Linked DNA regions of Homo sapiens: all the other regions are linked to region 1. Evidence: promoter capture Hi-C in human tissues and cell types (Jung and others, 2019). All regions are on one chromosome and are shown on one strand. The core of a region is centred on a gene start or on the middle of the fragment in contact, and the rest is flanking DNA. Distances in the headings are between cores, read along the strand shown.

What was found. The method cuts DNA at HindIII sites, captures the fragments that hold promoters and counts their contacts. A contact is called where the count stands out against the background at its distance.
Region 2: a fragment that was not itself captured here is called in contact with the fragment with the promoter of OMG in region 1 in 1 of the 25 tissues and cell types used here (mesendoderm cells).
Region 3: a contact is called between a fragment that was not itself captured here and the fragment with the promoter of OMG in region 1, in 2 of the 25 tissues and cell types used here (hippocampus and mesenchymal stem cells).

What each region holds. Positions count from the first base shown.
Region 1 is chr17:31,295,585-31,298,874 of GRCh38, reverse strand. It overlaps OMG (oligodendrocyte myelin glycoprotein), which reads left to right and starts at 1,636. Exons shown (of 2, transcript NM_002544.5): 1 at 1,636-1,719; 2 at 2,538-3,290. The coding sequence starts at 2,544. The region is part of intron 36 of NF1 (neurofibromin 1); the gene reads right to left. The HindIII fragment of the contact is 15,224 bases long and covers 1-3,290 here.
Region 2 is chr17:31,330,147-31,333,659 of GRCh38, reverse strand. NF1 (neurofibromin 1) reads right to left here. Exons shown (of 58, transcript NM_001042492.3): 39 at 3,162-3,364. Among named protein-coding and RNA genes, the nearest start is that of EVI2A, 10 kb to the right of the region's middle. The HindIII fragment of the contact is 3,100 bases long and covers 714-3,513 here.
Region 3 is chr17:31,250,676-31,253,942 of GRCh38, reverse strand. NF1 (neurofibromin 1) reads right to left here. Exons shown (of 58, transcript NM_001042492.3): 31 at 943-1,005. Among named protein-coding and RNA genes, the nearest start is that of OMG, 45 kb to the left of the region's middle. The HindIII fragment of the contact is 3,539 bases long and covers 1-3,267 here.

The sequences.
Region 1 (3,290 bases), core at 387-2,886:
AGATTTAAGTGGTCGGTAAATTGACCCTCAGTCACATCTTTAGAAGTGCAGCAGTGTATATATGAGCTTAAATAGAACTCTAAATGTCAATGCATTCCCTATTTCCACAATATTGCTGAATGTAGTATTTTTAACACATTATTTTAAGCACTATGATTGATGGCTGGTTTCCTAAATCCACAGTAAGAATCCAATTGAGAGTTCAACTGAACCCTCAAAGTAAAGTGGCAATAAAGCACCCAATCAACAATAAACTTCTATGTTGCGGACTCTTAAAATGCAGATACTTTTCGAGGAACATTAGTTTTATACAAAAGGTGGCTCCTAGAGTATAGTTTCTCTTGTAAGAAAATAAACTTCAAATTTTAATACAACAAATTCTATTTGTGGTATAATCTAAATAATGCTAATATAATTTAGAGAAAAACAAACGATTTAGTAACAAGGCATAAAGAGACTTTCCTTACACATAACATGCTAAATATTACTCGTTTTTAAATGGTGCCACTTGGTAACGAAAATACCGTAACTTTATTTGCTTTCTTTAAACTTGCCATTCTGGAAATCAGATTTGTGTTTTAACAGATTTACACAAGCAGTCCACTGAAGAGTGGAGCAAAATTTATCATAAATCTGATCTCACTTTATAAAACTCATGATGAAAAATTTTCCTTTTATATCATTTCATGTAATTTTAAAACTATAAACTACTTTCCCAGAAAGATGAAATGTGCAACACTCTGAAATCACCTAAATTGATACTGCTATTCTTAAAACATAAAATCAAATAAATGGTCATTCATACAGCACCAAAAATGTCTTTGGAAAAAACAATACTCATATCCACTTACCACCCAAGGTTGCATAAAGAAAAAAAACTTTAACTCCAAATATATAAAATAAAACATGTTTATTTTACATAGGAACTGATAATCTGAAGTATAAGATGCTAATTTCCAAATGTATCCTGGCTTGTGTGTAGCCTTGGTCAAATGATCATTGTATCAGAAAGATAAAGAAAAAATAATCGTATTTCAGTACTTCTATACATCCTAAAAGGGAAGACGGAACACTTAAGTGGTTGATAAATTTGAAAAGCTGATTAAACATAATAATCACCATGTTGGGGGAAGACATAAAAGTCATAAAACAGATTTTTTATAATATTAAAAAAGTGACATGAAAATTATACAATTTTAGAAAGGAATATAAAAAGGCAGGAGTTAAAAAATAGTGGGACTAATATCATAGAAAACTATCCATGAGGAAGGTCAAATTTATTTTCAACATGTAAAAAGGATAAAGAGTAGAGGTATTTTAAAAATTCACAGATTCTTAATGAGGCAAATGTTAAAATATGGAACCCAATCTCAGACAAATACATAGAAAGGAGTAAGGGCCAACTCTCATGCATAAGGTATCCCATCCTATAGCAAATCAGATATATAGGTACGCTTGATGCCACAAATTTTTTAAAAAATTGTCCATTTTGTTGCGTGTGCACCTCTTGCCATAAATTTGAGTCAGCACCAGCGACAGCTCTGCAGTCCTCCTATGTGGTACTGATCAGGTGGTTGCAGAGCTTCAGCTCACAGCAACACAATGCAGCTGAGCAGGCAAGCACAGCCCACAGCCAGAAACAGTTCCGACTCTACAGAACAAGACGACCTTTAAGTTTCCCAGAGAAAATGAGATGCTGATGTTGAAGACGACACCACGGTAAGATGTTATTTAAATCAGTAAAAGGCTGACTTTGGAATCTTTTTCCTTTTTCTTTTAAGAAAAAGTCAACGTTAGGATTAAATATATATTCAATAGCAAGTGCATGCACCAGAAATTTGCTGCAGTGTCAGTTGAGGGATATTTTTTATACATTCAGTCACTCTGTAAATATACATATTGTTTTCCTTTAAAATGGGCACTGAAATATACAGAAAAAAATCACTTTATAAAATGTGAGGTTTATAGGTACTGTGTTGGTCTGGATTTTTCAAGTGCTTTTTACAAAGATATATTTATCCTAAAAACATACAGATAAAATTTCGAAGAACTGCTTTAATATCTAAATAAAATCTACCCTATATACACACATTGAATTACATTACTGCAGAGATTAAAAAAAAAAGACACGACAGCCATTTTTTCTCATCTGAGTAAGAAAGCATATCATCAAAAATAGTAATAGCCTACAACTGCAACTATTTATTTGCAAAGAATGCTATTTTATCATATTAAGGCTCTAGAAAGATAAATAAGAAAGAATATGGTTAGAAAAGGGGGGAGGGAGAGAGAAAATAAAGGAGAAAATGCAGGAGAGAGTAGGGAGAGAGTCTCTCTCTACCACATAGCCCAATTGAAGGATTAAGCATTTGGACTATAAATGAAGGGGAGCTTTGTTAGTTTAATCACTGGAACAATTATAAAAGGACTCGACAACAACGAGGTTTATTGAAAATTTTGCCTAATGCTAACTGACCCATGCAGATGCCTAAACTGTATTTGCATATTAAAAGAAGGGTGTATCTGTTTGTTTCTAGGCTTTGATGGAATATCAGATATTGAAAATGTCTCTCTGCCTGTTCATCCTTCTGTTTCTCACACCTGGTATTTTATGCATTTGTCCTCTCCAATGTATATGCACAGAGAGGCACAGGCATGTGGACTGTTCAGGCAGAAACTTGTCTACATTACCATCTGGACTGCAAGAGAATATTATACATTTAAACCTGTCTTATAACCACTTTACTGATCTGCATAACCAGTTAACCCAATATACCAATCTGAGGACCCTGGACATTTCAAACAACAGGCTTGAAAGCCTGCCTGCTCACTTACCTCGGTCTCTGTGGAACATGTCTGCTGCTAACAACAACATTAAACTTCTTGACAAATCTGATACTGCTTATCAGTGGAATCTTAAATATCTGGATGTTTCTAAGAACATGCTGGAAAAGGTTGTCCTCATTAAAAATACACTAAGAAGTCTCGAGGTTCTCAACCTCAGTAGTAACAAACTTTGGACAGTTCCAACCAACATGCCCTCCAAACTACATATCGTGGACCTGTCTAATAATTCTTTGACACAAATTCTTCCAGGTACATTAATAAACCTGACAAATCTCACACATCTTTACCTGCACAACAATAAGTTCACATTCATTCCAGACCAATCTTTTGACCAACTCTTTCAGTTGCAAGAGATAACCCTTTACAATAACAGGTGGTCATGTGACCACAAACAAAACATTACTTACTTACTGAAGTGGATGATGGAAACAAAAGCCCATGTG
Region 2 (3,513 bases), core at 1,014-3,513, 34 kb before region 1:
CATATTATTCCATCAGATGGAGAACCAATAATTTAATCAGTTCCTTATTCTTTGACTTTTGGCCTGTTCATTTTTTTGCTATTATAAATAATGTCATATGAAGTTCTAAAGTAGGCAAAATAAATCTGTGCAATAGAGGTCATAATAGTGTTTACTCTTGGTGAAGGGAGGGTACTGAGAATATCCCTCTGGATGCTAGAAATGTTCTATGTCTAGATCTGGAGATACTTTCATGATGTATTTGCATGTAGAAGTTCATCAAGCTGTTGACTTAAGATCTTGCACTTTACTGATGACAAGATATACCTCAATTTAAAAATCTACATAAAAATAATGCTATAATAAACATTTTAACATTAATTCTTTAGGATAAATGCTAAAAAGCAGAATTATGAGGCCAAAAGGTATGAATAGTCTTAAGGTCTTGTTATCCACTTCCAAATGCCTTTCTAGAAAAATTGCCTCTACTCACAATTCCACAGACCACCAGGAATGGATCTTAAAAAAAAAATCTTTGCCAAGCTGATAACTGATTATCTCACTATTCTTTCAATTGGCTTTTATTAGTGAATTTCTTAAAATATAAATATTCTTTTTGAGATGGGGGCCTCACTATGTTGTCCAGGCTGGTCTCAAACTCCTGGGCTTAGCGATCCTCCTGAGCAGGTGGGATTACAGGCATGTGCCATGGTGCCTGGCTTTTTTCTTTTTTTGTACAAATATTCTTTTTTAAAAAACATAAAAAATGATGAGTTCATATCCTTTGTAGGGACATGGATGAAATTGGAAACCATCATTCTCAGTAAACTATCGCAAGAACAAAAAACCAAACACCGCATATTCTCACTCATAGGTGGGAATTGAACAATGAGATCACATGGACACAGGAAGGGGAATATCACACTCTGGGGACTGTGGTGGGGTCGGGGGAGGGGGGAGGGATAGCATTGGGAGATATACCTAATGCTAGATGACACAGTAGTGGGTGCAGCGCACCAGCATGGCACATGTATACATATGTAACTAACCTGCACAATGTGCACATGTACCCTAAAACTTAGAGTATAATAAAAAAAAAAAAAAAACCATGATCTGTATGTTACTGTTAATCCACTTTTTATTAATCGGTCAGCACCCTTCATGATTAAGGATTTTATTCATTCATTCATTCATTTATTCATTCATTTATTTATTTTGAGACAGAGTCTCCCTCTGTTGCCCAGGCTGGAGTGCAGTGGAGTGATCTCGGCTCACTGCAACCTCTGCCTCCTGGGTTCAAGCAATTCTCCTGCCTCAGCCTCCTGAGTAGCTGGGACTACAGGCATGTACCACCGAGCCCGGCTAATTTTTGTATTTTTAGTAGAGAGGGGATTTCACCATATTGGCCAGGCTGGTCTCGAACTCCTTACCTTGTGATCCACCCACCTCAGCCTCCCAAAGTGCTGGGATTACAGGCGTGAGCCACCGCGTCTGGCCGATTAAGGATATTAATCATTTCTCATATTTGCTCCAAGTGTATTTCCTAGTTTTTAATTATCTTCACTTGTGTTTATTTTTGAGTAGCTATGTTTTGAAGTTTTATGTAGTCAAATCTGTTCGCTATTTCCTTTGTTTCATCCTATCACTTTTTTACTTCATATGTCCTTACTCATCTAGAAAGCAATTAAATATTCACTTGTTCCTCTTCTTTTTAAAATGGTTCCAAGCTTTTATATACAACTTTTTTTTTTTTTTTTTTTTTTTTTTTTTTTTTTTAATAGAGAAGGGTCTCACTCTATCATCCAGGCTGGAGTGCAGTGGTACGATGATAGCTCACTATAGCCCTGACCTCTGGGGCTCAAGCAATCCTCCTGCCACAATCCTCTTGCCTCAACCTCCCAAAGTGCTGGGATTACAGGCGAGAGCCACCACACACAGCCCTACTCAACTCTTAAATACAGGCAGAACATACTTGGTATCTTATGGTGTACGGTGAAGACGAAGACCTAATTTAAGTCATTTCCCAGCCTCATTTATTAAATGATTTAATCTCTCCCTCATCAGTTTGTGATGCTTCTTTATCAATCTGTTTCTCTTAAACTGATCTGATGGCTGATTCTTGCACATGTATGTTTTAATTATTGTACTGCTATAAAGTGTTCAGACATCTGTACTATTAAGTCTCAAGTCTCTTTCCTTTCAATATTTTCTTAGCTATTATTGCACTTTTATGTAGAATTTAGAATCATTTAAGTTCTATCTCCATTCTCAATCCTCAAATCCCATGGTTATTTTGATGAAATTACATTAAATTTGTAATAATCTGGGAAGAACTGTTCATGCAGGAACACAATATGCCTTTACATTCACTCAAATCTTCTCTCATATTAATATTTATGAATAAAGTTTATACTTTTCTTGTTTTGTCAGTCCTACACATTTTTTTGTTAGGGTTATAGTCCTACATCTCTTACCTGACAAAGAGTCTTAGTGAATTGCTGAAGCTTTTAATTATCTAATATATAAAAGTCAAGAAATGTGTTTGAATGCAGAAAAAAAAGTTTTATATATTACAGGGAAAGGAAAGGGAAGAAAAGGTCAGGAAATATGCTGGGAGAAGATCAACATTTATAAAACTATAGGATATAAAGATGGACAAATATAAAGAGTGGATATTAAATTTATAAGACTTAGTTAAAACAAAGTCAGAACTGACTCTGGGCCCTGTATTATGTGCCACTGTGCTCTCCGTGAACTGTACATTTACAATAAATTCATTGTTCAAAGTCAACCTAAAGAAAAGAGAAAATGACTAGTTCTCTAAAATTAAGGAGGCAACATGGATACTTATGTGGACTTTTCTGCTATGAAGAGAAATGCTGAAGCTAATTAAACTGCAACAGTGAAGAAAATACTTTGTAAGTGGTCCAGAGGTGTGTAAAGTACCAAACTCTTGCCGCTTTGCTTTTATTATCAGAATTTTGGTGGATTTCTCAATGTGGCCTACCAAAAAGTTCCTTCAGAGTTCCTTCAGTTACAGGATACCACAGATATAAAATCAGAAGAGGAAAAAAAGTAAAAATGTAAGTGAAAGTCTTCACTGGAAAATTCTGAAATGAAAGGGTTTTCTTTGAATTCTCTTAGAATAATTGTTAGTATTAAAGAAAATTATCATTACTTACTAGATTTGCTAAATCCAGAAATACACTCTTCCAAAAATTCTAACGTGAGGTGTGGCTCATTGGCTGCCAGTGTCTTACTAATAGAGACAATAAAGAGGGTGTTGTTGGCAGGGATACATAAACCTGATGTCTCTAGTAACTGGCCCTCGATTTTTAAATTAAAGGTACAAGTTAAGGCACACAGAAGATTATAGGCAGCTGACCTAGGAGAAAACACAAATGAAGTTGTTTTAAAACGTATTTTTCCTTATAGTTCCAAAATTTTTTCATAACATACAATTTGTGATTCTGTTACAAAGTATGATCAACTATTTTTAAATTTTATGATCAGTTAGAAATAAGATGTTATAAT
Region 3 (3,267 bases), core at 322-2,821, 45 kb after region 1:
AGATGAAACCAGATGAACACTGTATTCTAAATTACACCCTTTTAAGAAAACTACCTACTTAGTTTTCTTTACATCTTACTCTACAATCATTTGGATTATATGAACAAAGACAGGGCTCAGCCTGATAAGTCACTGTGACAGATAATGGCAAATGTAAAATGAATGCATATTATATTTTGGACAAATTCCATTCACTGGAAGAAAATAATTACGACTCTCATAATTTTCTTCCTTTTAAATAAATCAAGGCAAGTTCATAGAAGCAGATAGTATATTCACATTATGTTTGCAGAATGATGTGTTTTTCTACAAATATGAACTCAGTTTTCTTTTATCTCAAAAGTACTATCTTATCATTTACCTCTTATTTTTTTGAGGTAAAAGTAGTTTTACCATTAAAATTTCTATAATCTATGCACAAATATCTAAATTATGCCTGAGACTGCCTAGATAAAAATATGAAGAGTAAAAAAATAAAATTTAGCAACTTTTAGGTAAGATTTAGAAAGTGACTCTTTCCCACCATATACTTCTAACAATTAAGAAACACTGTCATCTCTGGGAAAAGAAACCACTCACATTACCTTCAAACAAGAAGCAAGAATGAAGACAGTCAGCGTTTCCTAAGGCCTTGAAATTAAGTTTCTTTGCATTCATTTATAATTTAAAAAGTAACAATAATAAAATTAGACCAAGGATATCCAATGCAACAAATGCCCACAAATTGCCTTTGGGATAAATCAAACCAAAGGAACACAGAGAATGTTTCAATGTAACTTAATTCCAGGGTTAATTGAAATGAAAGCTATTTTGTGCCAGAATTAGTAGAATGATTTTACAGTGAAGGTCAAATAGGCTGAAGTGAAGATATTCTTAACAAACAGCAAAAGATTTTTGTTTTGCTTTGAAAGAAACAGCTAATAAAAAGTTCTCCAAACTTACTGATTTTTTGTTTTCCTTTTTTTCTTTTACTGTAGCTTTATTCAGTAGGGAGTGGCAAGTTGCCTACAGAACAGAGATGAGCACAAACAAGTCACAGCACCGACTACATACAGCAACAAAAACAATGTTGGCTTGTACATAAAATTACACCATAAAATGTAACACAAATGGAATCAACAAAAAATTAGAAATCAACTGAATTTTGAGGAATGAATTTTAATTCTGGGTTTTAATTTTTATTACATTTTTAAGCCAAGCACTAAAACAGCAAGAAATGTTGAGACCCAATCATGTCTACTATTTCTGGCTATGAATCACAGAAAAACTCTCTCCAAGTGAATTTGAGGATATTAAATATTTACATTTTGGTTAATTCCTAGCTTTTGAGAAATGTAATATAAAATATTCATTACAAGTAGATCACACACTAAAAACATTTGTGTCTACATAATTTTTTCTTGGTATGTAAAATTCTTCTCTGTGTATCCTTCAATTGACTTTAAGTTCTTTTTCCAACACCTGGCATTTAATTATGATCCTACTGAATAAAGAAATAAAAATTATATGGATAAATATAAAAATTCACTTTAGAAATTCTGAATTAAAGACCTCTCTCTCTAAAAAAGATTACTCTTAACATTTCACATATTTTTCAATGTTTGCAGGCTACTTCCTGAAATGGTTCTAATCAGAGGAGGTTAAAAGCTCTGCAACATTTGGGAGAAGAAGGTTATCAGCTCAACTAGTAAGAAGCATTAATATTATTAAAGTGAAGAAACTGCAGAGAAAATTACAGAACAAAACTGTAGGCCTGCTTAAAACTTTTCACATATTACAGTTGACCATTTATCAAAATATCTTAAAAAAAAAAAAAAAAAAAGCCACCTAAAAAACCCCCAAAACTCCAGGCACATATTGGTTTCATCTCTCAGAGCTCTTTCTAGACCAAAGATTTCTTTCAAAATTAAAAGACTCTTGATTGGACTAGCCTAGGCAGAATAATTATTTTAAAAATATTTTTAAAACCATGTTAGAATTATTTAATCCACAAATAGATGGCATCTTATTCTGGGAATTCTGGACATCCAACACCATAACCCATAACTTGGGCTTTAAGTTAGTTAGACATCCATTCATCCACCCACCCATTCATCCATCCAAAGAGTTACTGTGTACCTACAGGTCAAATACCATTCTAGGCATTGGGAAATAGCAGTAAAACAACAAGACACAGCCCCTTAGCTCACAGAGCTTTGTTTCAAACTTTAGACTATATACAAATGTATTAGTAACAGTGGTATATAACTATCATTTATAGCCTTAAAACTGTGTGTAAACTACTTCAGTTTGGAGAAGCAGATTTACTGAAAAAGGGTGAGATTTATTTAGAATCATAAATTAGTTCTTAGAATTCTCTCACCATACGAGAATATCCACTTTGGGAATCATTTTATCTTTATCCTAAAACCATCAGGAGAAGTGAAAACAACACATGAGAAAATGATTTAATTATAAATCTGACACATGTTCACAGTTGGCTATTCTTAAATAACCTTAATCCAGTCAACTAAGGAAGGAAGGTATATAAAGTAATAGAGCTGGTTAACACATGATTTGAAAAGGCTTAAAGGCCAAGATATGAACTCAAAAAAGGAGCTAAAGTCCAGGGAAGTTTATTAGCTAGCAATATACTCACTTCCCTTTCAACATTTCCCCAGTAGGTCCCAAAGGGACTACTATCCCTCCAGGCAGAACACAGAAGAGCAGGAAGGTACCTTTCTGTTACTGCCAAAGGCAAAGGGGCAAGAAAAAGCCAGAAGAGGGAAGATGAATAAAAACAAAAGAGCAAACCAAAAGAAATAAACTAGGTTTGGGAAGCAGACTCAATAAAATACTATCTTGAGACCAAAGCTTTTTTCCTATCTTTCTTTCTAATCAGTAAATGTAACATTCCCTGTTACCAGTTACTAATTAAAAAATAAAGCCTTATTTAATAACAACACAGCATGCTGTCTCTGCTCTTCAACAATGCTTTTACCCAATACTTAAACAATGCACTGATACCACCTTTAATTCATGTTTTTAAAGATAATAATTTTATGTGAAATTTTAACATAATAAACCAGGTTTGTTATTAAAATAATATAGGATATTTTACTGTGAAGTGCTCTAAAAAGCATAACATACTGTTTAATAATCACCACATATAGTGTTTAAAAATCTATTTTCACTATTTTCCTCCTTTCTTAGCTGTGAAAGCTGGCAAGAATCTTGTTTACTTAGGTGGGAGGGATGGGAAATTTATTTCTTCATTAAATATTTCCT